3 separate regions of the Homo sapiens genome follow, and all the other regions are linked to region 1. The links are contacts of gene promoters, found by promoter capture Hi-C in blood cells and fetal thymus (Javierre and others, 2016). All regions are on one chromosome and are shown on one strand. The core of a region is centred on a gene start or on the middle of the fragment in contact, and the rest is flanking DNA. Distances in the headings are between cores, read along the strand shown.

What was found. The method cuts DNA at HindIII sites, captures the fragments that hold promoters and counts their contacts. A CHiCAGO score of 5 or more calls a contact.
Region 2: a contact is called between a fragment that was not itself captured here and the fragment with the promoter of PLSCR5-AS1 in region 1, in 1 of 17 cell types (activated CD4 T cells). The highest score is 5.0, in activated CD4 T cells.
Region 3: a contact is called between a fragment that was not itself captured here and the fragment with the promoter of PLSCR5-AS1 in region 1, in 5 of 17 cell types (M1 macrophages, naive B cells, M2 macrophages and 2 more). The highest score is 10.8, in M1 macrophages.

The regions. Positions count from the first base shown.
Region 1 is chr3:146,588,245-146,591,150 of GRCh38, forward strand. PLSCR5-AS1 (PLSCR5 antisense RNA 1) reads left to right here and starts at 1,358. Exons shown (of 2, transcript NR_046698.1): 1 at 1,358-1,544; 2 at 1,819-2,081. PLSCR5 (phospholipid scramblase family member 5) reads right to left here. Exons shown (of 8, transcript NM_001085420.2): 6 at 1,409-1,570. The HindIII fragment of the contact is 1,724 bases long and covers 1-1,547 here.
Region 2 is chr3:143,896,770-143,899,675 of GRCh38, forward strand. No RefSeq gene overlaps it. Among named protein-coding and RNA genes, the nearest start is that of SLC9A9, 50 kb to the left of the region's middle. The HindIII fragment of the contact is 3,266 bases long and covers 1-2,906 here.
Region 3 is chr3:148,949,592-148,952,497 of GRCh38, forward strand. All of the region lies in intron 2 of LOC107986045 (a long non-coding RNA gene), which reads left to right. Among named protein-coding and RNA genes, the nearest start is that of GYG1, 40 kb to the right of the region's middle. The HindIII fragment of the contact is 6,256 bases long and covers 1-2,906 here.

The DNA.
Region 1 (2,906 bases), core at 108-2,607:
TGGATCACGAGGTCAGAAGATCGAGACCATCCTGGCTAACACAGTGAAACCCCATCTCTACTAAAAATACAAAAAAATTAGCCGGGTATGGTGGCACATGCCTGTAATCCCAGCTACTCGGGAGGCTGAGGCAGGAGAATCGCTTGAACCTGGGAGGCAGAGGTTGTGGTGAGCCAAGATTGCGCCACTGCACTCCAGCCTGGGTGACAGAGTGAGACTCTATCTCAAAAAATAGAACAAAAAATAAAACAAAAACAAAAATGCCAATGTCATGAGACTCAGGGAAATGCACATGCATGTGCACATGTTCATGCACACACATATACACACACACACACCCCTTAGGAACAGTTCCAGGTGAAAAGAAACAAATGAGATGTGACAAAATGGACATACTTCATGATCTTGGATTTTCTATTGTCAGAAAGGACATCATTATGCAAATCAGTGCAAACCGAATAAAGTCTGTAGATTAGATAATAGCATTGAATCAGTGTTTAGTGCCTGACTTTGACAATAGTACTGTGATGTGTAAAAAAATTCCTTGTTTTTAGGAAATGCACACTAATATAATTAGGGGAAAAGGCATCATGTCTGCAACCTACTCTCAACTCTTATGCTGTTTGTTTTAATCACTTATGTGTGTGCCTGTGTATACACATCTTTTTCATGTATTTATAGAAAATACATGTGTTTATATATCAACAAATAAAAACTCCATAAGTTTTTATGGCTGCATTGAAAATGGTAGGAAATTAGGTAAATATTAGAGGGAAAACTAAGAACAGGATATAGGTCAAGCATTTTGATACAGGTATTATTTGACTTCTGTTCTTCTATCACCAATCTCCATATACCAAAGAAGAAAAGGTTTTCAATATAATTGTAAGTTGGAAAGTAATAACAAGAACATAGTATCTTAGAAATAATGGCAACTGGTACCTATTAACTCATCAAATCATTTCATGTGTCTATGTTCACACTGAGAAGGCAACATTCTTAATATCATCTAGCTCACTATTATGCAATGAACCAGTCTGGAACTTTATCCAGGATAAATCATGTGATATTTATGTTTGCATATTTTTTAGTTCAAGTGAAAATAAGCCAAAAATCTAAATTGAACGTAAAAGCAAGGGGAAACTAGGTTTTAAAGAAATGATGAATAGGATGTGATAACACTTCAATCTTTGAGAAAGGGGATATGAGATCACTGAAGAGGGGCTGCCTAACAGAAATGCAGGGTTCTAAATTCTAATTTTTGAAGAACATTGGTCCTAAGCTATCCTTCTATGAATAAAATATACTCTTTGGGGGTAAAAACTGTGTAAATGGGATAGGCTATATTGTAATTAACAAGCAAGAGGGAGAATAACAAATCACTCATGCTCTCAAAGCCCATACTTACAAAGAGAAAACAGGCACCGATCATTGCTGCTTTGACTGTTACATCTAGATCTGCAGGAACATGAATTCCGAAATTGTCAGCATTTGTGAAGACATCATTTACAAATCCTGACCAGTACTTTGAAATCTTCCCAATTGTAAGCTTTTCATTAATGGTTTTCACCTTTAGAAAGAAAATAAGGAGTATTAAATTTGACAGTGAAAAAAGTTGGTTTTATACTTCTGAGGGTGTTTACTTCATGAGAGATTTGAATTATTTTATTTGTCATCTTCAAAATGACAATTCCATGTTATTCATTCCATCATATAAGCATAGGTTTGTAAATTTAGCTTTTCAGTTTACTTTTTAGAAACTTTGCTTTTTTGACAGTTTTCTAGTCCATCATAATTCTTTTTCTTTTTTGTATGCAGATGGAGAATATCAGGATAAATAATTAAGGCTCAGCCACCACAAGATGGCAGCAGGTACATAGTTCAATTGTATCATCTAAGCATGAAGGCGATTTCTTTACTTGAGGTCCAGATTTTAAACCTGAATTCTCCATCTTAAAAATGTAAAAGAAGATATGTTTGAAAAAATATTTCAGAAGGAATTAAATTAATTTCTAGGCATAATTTGTAAACTTTCAAATTTCAGTTGCTAAAATTTTATAATTATTAAAACATTTAAATATTATTGGCCATTGTTAAATCACATTTTTATATTATACTCAGACATTTATTAGGTCAATACTTTCTAACAAATCCTAAATCCTATTTTTACATTAAAAAAATCCTCCTGGTTAATGTACCATATAGGAAGTTAAGACCAACTAGACATCAATCAGTCCTTCTCAGCTAGAAGGAGTTCACAAATCAACTTTATCAGCTATTTGTTTGTTTATTCTGCTTCCCATCCTGATGCTGAAAGTAATTCAAGAGAAACTATCACTTTTTTCAGGGTAGTAAAAGATAGAGAATAGAGAGGGTTACTTAGGACATTTCTATAGCATGAATGCTAAAACTCTTATGTTTAAAGTCCTCCTCAATCATATTACTCGTAGGAAAGTCATGCCAAATCCTTTGGGGATAGGGTGAAGTTGGAACAGCTCAGTTTGCAAAATTTGCATTGTATTCTACGTGCATAGTGTTTCCTGAAGTCCTGAGAACTAAATGCCCTTGCTGAGATATTTATGTATGAATGGATGAAAAATAAATATACACTTTCAATTAGGCTGTCTCCTCTACCTAAGTTGTATGTCCAGGACAACCTGTTAAGATAGTTTATATTGCTACAGATCAAATTTACAACTTTCTATTTTTTAAATATTCAATTTATACAAATACGAGAATAAGGTTTTTTTTTGTTTTTTTTTTTTGTTTTTTTTACAAAACTAACTTAGCAAGTCTTAGAAACACAGCTTTTGAGTTAATGCTGTTTTAATGTAACGTGCTGCTGAAATGAGATCTAAACTGGGATATGTGATCTCAAGGCCCATAGGAAAGAAGATACATAATTT
Region 2 (2,906 bases), core at 181-2,680, 2.7 Mb before region 1:
CATTTTAGCAAATCACACCCAAAATACCGTGAAAGAAATGCCTGTCATTTTTTTAAAAAAAAAATCCTATTATAGGCCGGGTGCAGTGTGGCTCATGCCTGTAATCCCAGCGCTTTGGGAAGCCGAGGCAGGCGGATCACGAGGTCAGGAGACCGAGACCATCCTAGCTAACACGGTGAAACCCCGTCTCTACTGAAAATACAAAACAGAAAAACAAACAAACAAAAAAATTGTCTGGGCATGGTGGCGGCCGCCTGTAGTCCCAGCTACTCGGGAGGCTGAGGCAGGAGAATGGCGTGAACCCAAGAGGCGGAGCTAGCAGTCAGCAGAGATCGCGCCACTGCACTCCAGCCTGGGCGACAGAGCGAGACTCCGTCTAAAAAAAAAAAATCCTATTAGAATCTGTGGGACCAGATTTCTGCAAAGCACCCAGACTGCTGGTTTTATTTCTATGTTTTAATCTCAAACTTGTGTTATTTTTCTCTTGACTATTTATGACTGCACCTATAATTTCTATTTTCATTCCTTTTTTAATGTCTTACTTATGAAAATCATTTCTTAATTCTACAAATGAAGTATTGACATTTTAGTGGCATCTTTTATAAAAAATATATTTTCCCTTCCCAAAAAGTTAATATTGGGCCATAAAAACCTTCAGTCCTGTCTGATAATAAAATATAGAAAATATCAATTGAAGATGTTTTATTCCAAATGACATTGCCACGTACTTTTTAATAGTATTAGAGTAATTCCCTTAATTGTTTCATGGAAAAAAATCCATTAAGATCCTTTAATGAAGAAAACATATATTTGTAATGGACCAAATGGCAATGTGCCCTTGTCTGAAGCAATTACACTGTCCAATAAAGGAAGACTCACATTCAAATGTGGTACCTTTGAACACCAAATATTACAAGAATTCCTAGTCAGCAGGATGCTATGCCAAAAGCACTCCACAAATGGTTTTCCCCTTTCTTACTATCTCGTGGCCTCATTCTAAAGATCTCTTCAATACTTCTATTAGCATACTAGAGAGTTTCAACATAGACTTTAACATTCCATGCTTATCTGACCCTGGGCTATTAAAATTGGTAAACATTATGAATCTTCTCATTTGAACATGGCTTTGACTATCTTATGTTTCTGCGTTTCTTCCTGCCTTGCTCTTTCTTAATGCGAGCCACGTCTCTGCCCTCTGTTTTGCTTATTGTTTCCCTTCTCTCTTGTTTGTTCAGCTTCTGTACAATCATTTCTCTTTGCTCTGGCCCTTGCTCTAGCCTCATGTTCATTTCAGCCTCCGCCTTTTTTCCTTTTCAAACGTCTTTGATTCCAGTTGACAGTTTAAGATTTTTTTTTTCTTTTACTTCCCAGAGGCTCCTGTTGCCATAGTGATACTTGATTACGAAGGCCATGACTGCTTCCATTGACACTCTGGTTGCTATAACAATGCCAGTTAGCCAAGAATTCTGTGGAAACTTGTGAGAAGGATGCTAGTTCACACCTTTCTGTGGGACAGCTTGCCAGGAAATGCTTCTTATTTAATGGTTGTTCCTAGTACTAAAACTTAAGTCCGTAAACTTAAGGGCAGCTCATTCTTCAGTAACTAAAAAACAGAGACACAAATATTTACTCTTCACACCATGTAAAATTCCTCTTCTTCCCTGACTTTGCTTGCCCTCTATTCCTAATCTATTAATTCTTTGGTATTAAAAATATGTTTGCTATGGGCTGAATTGTGTCCTCCCAAAATTCATATGTTTAAGCCTTAACCCTCAATGTGACTGTTTTTGAAGATAGGGCTTTTAGGAAGCAATTAAGGTTAGATGAAGCCATTAGGGTAGGGTTCTAATCTGATAGGCTTCGTGGCCTTATAAGAGGACACATGTTTTCAGTTATAAGTGGGAGCTAAATACTGAGTACACACGGACACAAAGAAGGGAGCAATACACATCTAGGCCTACTTGAGAGTAGAGGGCAGGAGGATGGAAAAACTACCTATTGGGTACTATGCTTATTACCTGTGTGACAAGATAATGTGTACACCAGCCCCCCACAGCACATGATTTATTTGTAGAACCAGTTTGCACATGTACCCCTGAAACTAACATAAAAGTGAAACAAAAAAGAGGGCACTGCAAGAAAGCAGCCACCTGCAAGCCAGGAAGAAAACCCTAACTAGGAACCGAATCAGACGGCATCTTGGTCTTGGATTTCCCAGGCTTCAAAAGTATGAGGAAATACGTTTCTGTTGTTTAAGCCACCTATTCTATGGTATTTATGACAGCACAAAGTGACTAACATGACACCCTAATATTATTTAACATCAATACCTCCTAAGTGCTTTTGATTTTAAAGACATCAATTTCTGGGAATATACCCAAGTAAGAGAATCACAGAATATTGCGATGTGCATTGTCAGTCTTTTGTCTTTGAATACTAGATGAACCAGGTGATAAAAATGGACACATTTGGCCAGGCGCGGTGGCTCATGCCTGTAATCCCAGCACTTTGGGAGGTCGAGGTGGGCGTATCACCTGAGGTCGGGAGTTCAAGACCAGCCTGACCAACATGGAGAAACCCCATCTCGACTAAAATACAAAATTAGCCGGGCTTGGTGGCATATGCCTGTAATCCCAGCTACCCGGGAGGCTGAGGCAGGAGAATTGCTTGAACGCAGGAGGCGGAGGTTGTGGTGAGCCGAGACCACCCCAACACAGTCCATCCTAGGCAACAACAGTGAAACTCCGTTTCAAAAAACAAAAAACAAAAACAAAAACAAAAAAAAACAACAACAAAAAACACACCAATGGACACATTTATTGCATTTTTGTGATCCTTTTTGTTGTTGTTACAGCTTTTTTAGTCTCAAAAATATAAAGAAATATGTAACTATTTCCATCTTTATA
Region 3 (2,906 bases), core at 233-2,732, 2.4 Mb after region 1:
CACCTCTTTCTCATCTCAGAATTGCTCTGAATTTCTCACCTCTTTCAGAAAGATTTGATAAAACAACTTCTACCAGTGTTTACCAGCCTAAAGTCTTGCATACCGTCTTGATTCTTGTCATATCTGTGTACCACCTCTACTGTAATTTACCTAATATGTGTATGCCAGTTGGCTTATATTTTTGCATAAATGAACTTAGTTGTTTAAAAACTATATCATTGCCATGAAATCACGACTTTGGTGTATATATATATTTTTTATTTATTTATTTATTTATTTTGAGACGGAGTCCCACTCTGTTGCCCAGGCTGGAGTGCAGTGGTGCAGTGGTGCGATCTCGGCTCACTGCAAGCTCCGCCTCCTGGGTTCACGCCATTTTCCTGCCTCAGCCTCCCAAGTAGCTGGGACTACAGGTGCCCGCCACCACACACAACTAATTTTTTTGTATTTTTAGTACAGATGGGGTTTCACCATGTTAGCCAGGATGGTCTCAATTTCCTGACCTCGTGATCCGCCCGCCTCGGCCTCCCAAAGTGTTGGGATTACAGGCTTGAGCCACCTTGCCCGGCCATATTTTTCTAACATACAATACAATAAAATGTACAAGTAAAAATTGCTTTCAAATGTTCTTCCCTGTAACAGTAAACATAGTTTTTACATCAATGGGGTAGCCTTACAATATCTGAGAAAACACTAATAAAAGGGAATAATCTGATCCCACCTTTCCTCCAAAGATGGCTCTAAGGAAAAATGTAAATAGGGAAGTTTTGTATTGAGGGCCTCATTCCTCATCCATGTTCTCCTTCCTTTAAACAGTAATCACATAAATCACTGGGGGTGGGGCCTGGGTATCGAGTAATTCTAATATGAGCTAGGGGTAAAAGCCATTATGTCATTTCCCTTTCAAAAGACATTTCTCCTCAACAATGAACCTCATTCCTCCTACCACTTCCATAGGGCCAGCCTTTATGCACTGAGAGAAAGCCAATTTTCAGGCTGTCCTAAATTCATACTACATCAATATGTCTATACATCCACTACTGACAGGCTTGTTTTACTTATTTCATTCTTCCTTTCTTCTTATTCTGTTTCGTTATTTTATTAGCTAAAATAAATGACTTTTCTGATTTTGGAAGCAAATGTTCAACGAAAGAAAATTTAGAAAGTAAAAATAAGTAACAAAAGTAAACACTTTAAAGGCCCATAATACCACTTTTAACACTGCAGGACATATATCAAAACCCTTTCTAGAATATGAGTCAGAGTGTTATTTAGAAAATGGTATGTGCTGAATGCACCACTGTAAAAGAAGGAGAGATGCTTTTTCCTCCCTCACTCCCAAGCAAATTTCGTGTTCTAAGTCTGAGCTTCCTAGCCTCAGCCACTTGTTAATAAGTATAGTTGCAGAGCTACAAACCAGAAGCCAGGAGGTGCTAGAAAGCTAACACTCTATCCACCCAGAAAGAGACTAGTCCTGAGAGTGGAGGCCTAAGCCAGGAGGACAGAAGTTTTGCCAAGGAGGAGACCAGTGGCATTGGGTTCAAGAAATGGTGAAGATCTATGCCCCACTCCCAAACAGTCCTCAAGCAGTGACCTGGACTGAACCCCAGGTTTTTGGCCTTGGCACACAACAAAAAATTCCCGTGCCCAGCTTGGTAGAGGAAAGGAAGCTGCCCTCTTAAAAAGGGCAATGAACATCCTAAAATCCTCAACAGCTTTATAAATCAAGAAGAGCCTCCTAAAACTCAACTGAGATGGAATGTCCTGCTAGTTGTGGTCGGTGGGAGGGGACAAATTGATCTAATTTGGAATTGTTAAGGCCCATTGACCTAAACCACCAGATTTCTGGAGCCTCTTGATAAGAGGGAGTTGAGAGGGCTTCTTATAAGATCTGGGAATTTAATGGATAAATTTAAGGAGAAATTAGGAAAGTAGGGATCAAATCTGGATGAGATTCTGTCAAAATGAAGGTACAATTTTTATCTTAGCAAGGAAAAAATTTTTATCTTAGCAAGGAAAAAATCTAAAGTGGGTAAGAGTTGTCATTCATTTAAAAAGAAAGAAAATAGCAGTCACTTCTGTTAAAAGAAGAATGTATCTAGTCATTTTTATGGTTATAGAGTGGCCTCATCTTTATCTTGTTCCAAACATAGTCACAGAGTGGCCTTGTCTGAACATTGTTTATATTCTGTAAGCATTGTTAGTGTTCACTTGGGAACGTCATGATCCAGCAGCCAGCAGCACAAATTTTTACTTTCCTAAACAAATAAAGGAATGTATCACCACTCAGACCAAACTAATATTTACTTTATATATATACACACACATACAAATAAAATATTATGCTATACATACTATTGGATAATATGCTTTATATAATGACATAGCATCAGTAGCTTTCCATGACAGTGTTCATCAGCATCACTTTAAATGTAGGAATGGAGCTCCATCATGCAGATGAGCCAAAACGTGTTTCATTAATCCCCCATTGCTCAACATTTAACATGTTTTCCTTTGTGTGTGTATGTGTGCGTGTGTGTGTGTGTGTGTGTGTGTATTAGTTTGCTAAGGCTGCTGTAACAAAATACCACAGACTGCATGGCTTAAATAAGAGAAATTTCTTTTCTCACAATTCTAGAGGCCAGAAGTCCCAAATCAAAATGTCAGCAGGATTGATTTCATTCTGAGGCCTCTCTCCTTGACTTGTAGATGGCTTTCTTCCTCCAGTGTCTTCACATGGTCTTTCTTCTGCGTATGTCTATGTCCTAATTGCCTCTTCTTATAAGGTTACCTGTCATACTGAATTAGGACCCACCCATTGGACTTCATTTTACCTCAATTTCCTCTTTAGAAGTCCTATCTCCAAATACAGTCACATTCTCCACTACTGGGAGTCAGGACTTCAA